2 separate regions of the Homo sapiens genome follow, and region 1 is linked to region 2. The links are contacts of gene promoters, found by promoter capture Hi-C in blood cells and fetal thymus (Javierre and others, 2016). All regions are on one chromosome and are shown on one strand. The core of a region is centred on a gene start or on the middle of the fragment in contact, and the rest is flanking DNA. Distances in the headings are between cores, read along the strand shown.

What was found. The method cuts DNA at HindIII sites, captures the fragments that hold promoters and counts their contacts. A CHiCAGO score of 5 or more calls a contact.
Region 1: a contact is called between a fragment that was not itself captured here and the fragment with the promoter of IGFBPL1 in region 2, in 2 of 17 cell types (total CD8 T cells and naive CD8 T cells). The highest score is 5.9, in total CD8 T cells.

The regions. Positions count from the first base shown.
Region 1 is chr9:38,122,824-38,126,674 of GRCh38, reverse strand. No RefSeq gene overlaps it. Among named protein-coding and RNA genes, the nearest start is that of SHB, 56 kb to the right of the region's middle. The HindIII fragment of the contact is 2,135 bases long and covers 430-2,564 here.
Region 2 is chr9:38,421,964-38,425,799 of GRCh38, reverse strand. It overlaps IGFBPL1 (insulin like growth factor binding protein like 1), which reads left to right and starts at 1,346. Exons shown (of 5, transcript NM_001007563.3): 1 at 1,346-1,835. The coding sequence starts at 1,376. LOC105376041 (a long non-coding RNA gene) reads right to left here and starts at 1,189. Exons shown (of 8, transcript XR_007061487.1): 1 at 1,050-1,189. RefSeq lists an enhancer at 1-301. The HindIII fragment of the contact is 4,043 bases long and covers 1-2,563 here.

The DNA of each region.
Region 1 (3,851 bases), core at 248-2,747, 300 kb after region 2:
ACCTGGCCACATCAGACACTGCCCCCACCTTTATCATGAGATGAAGAAGAAAGAAAATGATCCTTCTCCGCAGAGTGAATAACATTCTGCAGGAATGTACAAGTAACAGCATTTTTATTTGAATGAAGAGATCAAGGGAAGCTTCCCAAGAAAGTAACAGCTGATCTGAGGCCCAGTGGGTGACATCACAGAATGTCACTGGACACAGAAGTGAGAGGAGGGCACACTCCATGCACAGGGATGGAATCAGCAAAGGAATCGGGGGCCCATCTCTTCAGGAGCAGATGAGTACAGCAGTTAGGTTGAGACCAGACTGTAGAGGGGTGTGGGATGTTTGAAAAGGAGGGTAAGGAGATAACCTTGATCCTGGGGCTTTAGAGAGCCACCGAAGTTTTTTCAGCAGGGGAGTGACAAGCTCAGATTTAAGCTTTAGAAAGATCCCATGGGTTGTTGTCAGTGTGGGGCTGAGATGGAATAGGAGAGACAGGAGGCAGAGACTGTCTGCAAGACCAAGAGAACACAGAGGCAGAAGCTATGCCAACTATCAGAACACATTTGTACATCAACGCACACACCCTAGGCTATAAGGTAGGGGAAGAAGCCAAGCGGAGTGAGTCAGAGATAGGAAATGAGGTCTGAGAAGGACTCGGCAAAAGAGAAACTCACCTTAGAAGACAAATCTGTCAAGGTAGGAAGAGAGCGAAAAGGGACTTCTCAGAAGCCCCATGAATGAGCCTCGTAATTGGAAGAGACCACAAGTGATAAATCGCCACACATCAGAGGAGGCAGGGGCCTTCAAGACTGAGAAATTCTTCATCTCCACTGTGCGGGTGGGGAAATCAAGGTCCAAAAACCATAAAGGACTTGCTGGATCCCCTGGCAAGCCTAGTCTACAATCAGGAGCTCCCACCTCCAAATTCTACAGTTCGCTCCCTCTCCCACATTTTGCCAGGTTAGTGTGTGGCCCCAACTTGCCAGGAAAAAGAATCAGAGCTGTAGAAAACACAGGAAGGTGCCTGGACTCCTAGCTCCTGTGAGAGCCAAATCTAAAGGCCAGAGATCAGAGGTAGGTGGGCCACGGTGGTATCAGGGGCTGTTCCGCCACTCAGAGTCCAGTGAGCACACAGCTAGGACAGGGGCCCTGATGGTGGAAAGAAAAGAGGGAGAAGGGGATATTTTGAAACAAAAGTTAGCAGGATCAGGTGACTGGGGCTCCAGGGTGAAAGAAAGCAAGAGCCTGGGCATGGACAAGCTCTGGCGATGTGGGACACACGTGGGATGATATTATCGTAAATGAACAAGGCCTGGTAGGAGGTGACCCCAAAGTGAGGGCACTAGCAGGATGAAGGGGGCAAAAGACAGAAGGATCTAGCCTGGAGTGAAATTATGAGCTTGGCTTGGACAGGCTGAGTTTGAAGTGATAGTGGGGCACCGATGGTGAATATCTTTGAGCCCTTACTCTATCACGTATCATGGGCACAGGGTATTTATGATATCTCCTTTAGCCTCCCAAGAGCTCCTTTGGAAGACATTATTCTTACCCCTACTGGACAGATGAGGAAACAAAGGAACAGAGCTATAAATAAATTTGTCCAAGGTTCCCAGCTTGCAAATTTCCAAGCCAGGCTGCAAACCCAGGTCGGTCTCACTGTGTTGCCTTCCATCACTAAGGAGCGAAAGAGAGGAGGTCATTGAAGAAGTCAAACCAGGTGAACACTGGAAAGTAGAGAGGAGAGAGAGAAAAGTGAGAGTACGGCAAACCCTGAGCAAGATGAAGAGTCCAGAGTGGAGTCACAGAGGGGCAGAGAGAGGTGGAGGGAGAATCAATAGAGTCTTTGTTACAGGAGCCGAAGTTGGAGAAAGTGTTCAAGCCAATGTCAAGGTGAGTCTTGAAGTCAATCCAAAGTGTCTTATGTGGTGAAGATGTAGTGATCACCATGAAACACAGAAGAACCTTGGGTAATGAGGAATCCCAGTGTTTCAGGGGCCCAGGCTGCCTGGAAGACTTAGAAGGGGCAGTTAGAGTGCAGAAGACAGTCTGGTTGGGGCAAGGTTAAAACAACCAATTCCGGCCAGGCGCAGTGGCTCACGCCTGTAATCTCAGCACTCTGGGGGGCCAAGGCAGGTGGATCACTTGAGGTCAGGAGTTCAAGACCAGCCTGGCCAATATGGTGAAACCCCATCTCTACTGAAAATACAAAAATTAGCCATGCACACCTAATGGGAGCTACTTGGGAGGCTGAGGCACGAGAATTGCTTGAACCCGGGAGGTGAAGGTTGCAGTGAGCCCAGATCATACCACTGCACTCCAGCCTGGGCGACAGAGCAAGACTCCATGTCGAAAAAAAAAAAAAAGAAAAAAGGAAAAAAAAGAAAGAAAAATCAATCCTGTGAGGACGTATCAGGAAACACACCCTGGAAAGAAAAACAGACAAACTGGACTTCAGCAAACTTAAAAATGTTTGTGCTTCAAAGGACACTATCAAGAAAGTTAAAAAGCCATGAAATGGGGGAAAAATGTTTTGCAAATCAGGTCTACAGTGGTTCATAATATTTAAGAAGCTTTAAAAACTAAACAATAAAAAACAAATACCCCAGTTACAAAGTGGACAAAGGATGTGAAGAAATAGACATTTCTCCAAAGAAGATATATAAATTGCCAATAAGCACATAAAAATTACTCAATGTTATTAGTCATTAGAAAACTGCAGGCTGGGTACAGTGGCTCATGTCTGCAATCCCAGCACTTTGGGAGGCCAAGGCAGGAGGATCTCTTGAGCTCAGGAGTTCAAGACCAGCCTGGGCAGCATAGTGAAACCCTGTCTTTACAAAAAAAATTTTTTAATTAGCCAGGCATGGTGGCACACACCTATAGTCCCAGTTACTTGGGAGGCCGAGGCAGGAGGATTGCTGGAGCCCAGGTGTTTGAGGCTGCAGTGAGCCATGATTGTGCCACTGCACTCCAGCCTGAGTGACAGAGCAAGACCTTGTCTCAAAAAAAAAAAAAAAAAAGCAAAAAAAAAGCAAATCAAAACCACAATGATATATTACTTCACACCCACTAGGATGGTTATAACCAGAAAACTATAACAAGTGTTGCTGAGGACACAGAAAAAGTGAAACTCTTATATAGGCAGATCCCCAAAAAGTTAACTACAGAGTTACCATATGACCCAGATTTTTTTTTTTTTTTTTTTTTTTTAAGACAGCATCTAGCCCTGTTGCCCAGGCTGGAGTGCAATGGCGCCATCTTGGCTCACTGCAACCTCTGCCTCCTGGGTTCAAATGATTCTCCTGCCTCAGCCTCCCAAGTAGCTGGGATTACAGGCACCTGCCACCACGCCCAGCTAATTTTTGTATTTTCAGTAGAGACAGGGTTTCACCATGTTGGCCAGCTGGTCTCCAACTCCTGACATAATCCGCCTGCCTTGGCCTCCCAAAGTGCTGAGATTACAGGTGTGAGCCACCATGCCTAGCCATGACCCAGACATTTTATTCCTAGGTATATACCCAAGAAAAGTGAAAACACATGCTGAAATAAAAACTTTTACACTAATGTTCACAGCAACATTATTAATAACAGCCAAGAAGTTGAAAGAATCTAAATGTATATCAACTGATGAATGGATACACAAAATGTGGTATATCCATACAATGCAATATTATTTGGCCATAAAAAGCAATGAAGCACTAACATATGCTACGACATAGATGAACCTTGAAAATATTATGCTACAGGAAAGAAGCCCGATAAAAAAGGCATCATATTATATAATTCCATTCACATGAAATGTCCAAAATAGGCAAGTCCATAAAGACAGAAATAAAATAGAGACAGCAACTAAATTAGT
Region 2 (3,836 bases), core at 97-2,596:
CTGGGAAGGAACTGGGCTTGAAAAGCAAAATGAACCCCACCCAAGAACGGTGTAGCTGGTCTTCCCAGGCTGCAAGAGGCTTTCTCCATCTCCAGGAGTTCAGCAAAGAAAAAACAATAGAGCACAAGACACATGAGGGGTGGCCAGTAAAGGCAGGAAAAGTCTCCTATAAAACCTGCTCAGCGAGTCCCTCCCTCCATCCAGTGCATTTACCCAGCAACACATCAAATCCCAGCAGCCAAGACTCTCTTAGGTTTCTCGTCTGGGTGCCCTGCCAGAACTCAGGCAGGATGGTGTGCACAGAGCCTGGCCCAGAGAAGGCGCAACGGCGGCATGAATAACTGACTACAAGAAACTGCATCTTTCCAACATGCATTCCCCAGTAAGCCACAGGTACACTGACCCTTGTGCACCAAGACTTCATCAAAGCATTATTCGTATTAACCAAAGGATGGAAAATAAGTGGTTAAATAACTGCAACTAAACCCTGTGGAAAGGCCACTCTGTATGAACTCCAAAATATATCACCATATCTCATCACAACAAAGTCACTGTGGACGGAGATGTACCATGACTTTATGCAGCATTAAGAAACACACTCACAGAGCCAATGAACTATGCTCCCATTGATTGTATAAGAAACCCAGTTTCACAGATGACAAGAGGTGGGGAAACTGTGAAACACTGTAAGTGCAAAAACCAAGTGCAGACTAATGTGTATGGCACGCTACTCTGTGTGTGTGAGAGAGAAACAGAGTGTGTGTGTTTTAAAGGAAGGGGCTTTTTTAGGCACATGTACTTTTATAGGCATAGAGAAAATTTCTGAAAAGATATACAAAAACCCGATAGCAAGAGTGGCCTCTGGAAGCCGAGTTGGAGGATGGGGATACAAGGTGGTAGGGTAACCCTCTTTTCATCCTTAGATGTATATGTAAAATCTACATTTTAAACCATATATTCTCTTTATAAAATAAAACTTTGAAAACTACTGAATGCAAAATAAAATTAAATAAAATAGCGCATCCTTCTGGGAGGATTTACGGGCATACTATCTGGAGCCAGCCTTGGATCCGGAGACCGTACGGTTATCCAATCCTGACTCTGCCATAGCGACCTCGGGCAAGTTGTCGCCCCGACTGGGTCTCGGTTCCCTCAAGAGTCCAATCGGAGGTCGGAGAGCTGCTCTCGGGGCGACCCTCCAGCTCGGAGACCCGGGCCGCGGGCACCGCGCGGGTCCCGGGCTGGAGCAGCGGTCTGCGGGCGCCCCGCGGTGCAGGCCCGGCCAATCAGCGGCCGCGGGGCGGGAGCGGTGACTGCTCGGCGGGCGCGGAGCGGAGCGCGAAGCAGAGGCGCCGCCGCTGTCCCGGAGCAAGCCATGCCGCGCTTGTCTCTGCTCTTGCCGCTGCTGCTTCTGCTGCTGCTGCCGCTGCTGCCGCCGCTGTCCCCGAGCCTTGGGATCCGCGACGTGGGCGGCCGGCGCCCCAAGTGTGGTCCGTGCCGGCCAGAGGGCTGCCCGGCGCCTGCGCCCTGCCCGGCGCCCGGGATCTCGGCGCTCGACGAGTGCGGCTGCTGCGCCCGCTGCCTGGGAGCCGAGGGCGCGAGCTGCGGGGGCCGCGCCGGCGGGCGCTGTGGCCCCGGCCTGGTATGCGCGAGCCAGGCCGCTGGGGCAGCGCCCGAGGGCACCGGGCTCTGCGTGTGCGCGCAGCGCGGCACCGTCTGCGGCTCCGACGGTCGCTCGTACCCCAGCGTCTGCGCGCTGCGCCTGCGCGCTCGGCACACGCCCCGCGCGCACCCCGGTCACCTGCACAAGGCGCGCGACGGCCCTTGCGAGTTCGGTGAGTCAGGGTCGGGGATTGGGTGGGTAGAGAAGGAGGGATTCCAACCCTCTGGGGTGTGGAGCGAAGGATCCCCCTGCCCAGTGGTGGACGGCGCTGCCTGGCACTCAGTTTCCCCTTAGGGAGCAGTATTTCATATCTCTCCTCGTGCTCAGAGAGACTGGGGCGAGAATCCTTGGAGACGCCACTCACTGTGCTAGTCGAATTTTTGGTGAGCCTGCTACCCCTTTTGGTACTTAAGTACCTGCTGATGCAGTCACTTATTTGTAGGCATGGTATGTTTGCCCAGCAGGAGACTGGGAGTTAAGGAGGGGGATCCGAGTTCCCAGGTATCCAGCGCTAGGTGGATTGTTTGAATGGGGAGGAAGGGAAGTTGAGGTTGGGGGAGGAAGGGAAGTAGAGGATAGGGGAGGAAGGGAAGTTGAGGATGCAGGAGGAGGATGAGTTCCAGACTGGGGAATCAGTAGTCACCAGGCCACAGCACCAGAGCACCAGGGCCCCCGGTGTGGGAAGGGGCTGAGCTGGGATGCTGAGGGAGCTCCATCCAGGAGAAGTAAGACCTTTGGAGACGTAAGGTCTGAAAAGATTGTGGTGCTATTAGGGGCAGACTCAGGTTTCGTGCTTCTAAAACATATATAATTTGGAGAGTCCTGCCTTAAGTAAAGGAATAGAACTGCTAGGGACTTAGAAACTTATTATGAAATGCTAGGGACTTAGAAACTTAAGCTTCATTAACATCACAGTAAAATAATCTCTGAGTGCTATAGTTGCCCACCCTCTTTATGTACCTTTTGAAAACCAAACAAAAAGAAACCAAAACGTTAGCACTGCTTTACCGGCTTCCTAAGCATGAGTGTATTCCACCCACTAGGTTTTGAAGTGCCGCTGTGTACTTTGCCTGGAGTGGGCAGTGCTGAGTTTAGGGTGAGTGAGAAGGTGGCCAGTGAGTCCCAAGGAGCCTGGGTTTCGGCCTGGAGTTCAGGCTTCTGGGAAATAATTCTGGCCTGAGCCCAGAGACCAAGTCCAGACTTTAGTGCCTAAGTCAGTGTAATGACTTAGCTTCAAGAAAGAAGCCTGGGGTGGGGTGAGACCTTTCCAAGCCTTAAGAAGTATCTAGTAGTCTTTCCTCTCAAGTAGTTCAGGTAGATGTACCCAAGTCCAGGAGACGCAATGGGTTGTTGGAGATGGGGCAGGAAGCCTCCAGTCCTGGGAAATGTAAAACCAGTGTGTGGCCAGTTGAGCACAGGAAAGTCACCATTGGCTGTTCCTAGCTGAAGCTCCCCATGGAGGACAGAGCTGGCTGGGGGTGCATCTGTGCTGCCGCTGGCTCCCTGAGTGGCCCTGGACGGGTCCCTTCCCCTCTCTGGCCATATCAGCCCCAGTGGAGTCATTGTTGAGGTCCCTTTCACTCGGAACAGTTGGTTTCCGCCCTGTGGCACTTAAACAGTCCTGTCTCTTTCCTTTTGCTAGTTCCTATCACTCGTTTTTATAACTGCTTTCCTCAGCCGTTAATTCACAGGCAATTCTCTTTGTCTCCAGACAGGTAACACTTTTAACTCCACATGCAGGAGACAGAAGAAATGCTGACCAGGTCCTCAGACTATAAATGCTGCTGATGATCTCAGATAATTTCTCCCCAGAGTGGCATTCTCTTCCTAAGAGAAAGGCACCTTAAAGACATTCAGACCAAATCTGCTGTTATACAGAGAAAGAGACTGAGACACAGCAAGGTCAGAGCCCTTGTCCAGGGTGACCAGTAAAGGATGACCAGCTCCCTGGTCCCAACACCCTGTCCAGTGCTCTTTTGGCACAGGACTTAATAGTATTAAGTCAGGCAGATGGTGGTTACCATGGTTACCAGAGTGAGGCCAGATGGCAGATGGAAACTCCATACCCCTAATTCACTGAAAATTACCAAATGACAAGTAAATGTGACAGCCCCTTCACTCTGATCTATGGGATCTGAGGCCCACCCCAGGCACAGACCCAGGGAATAAAGAT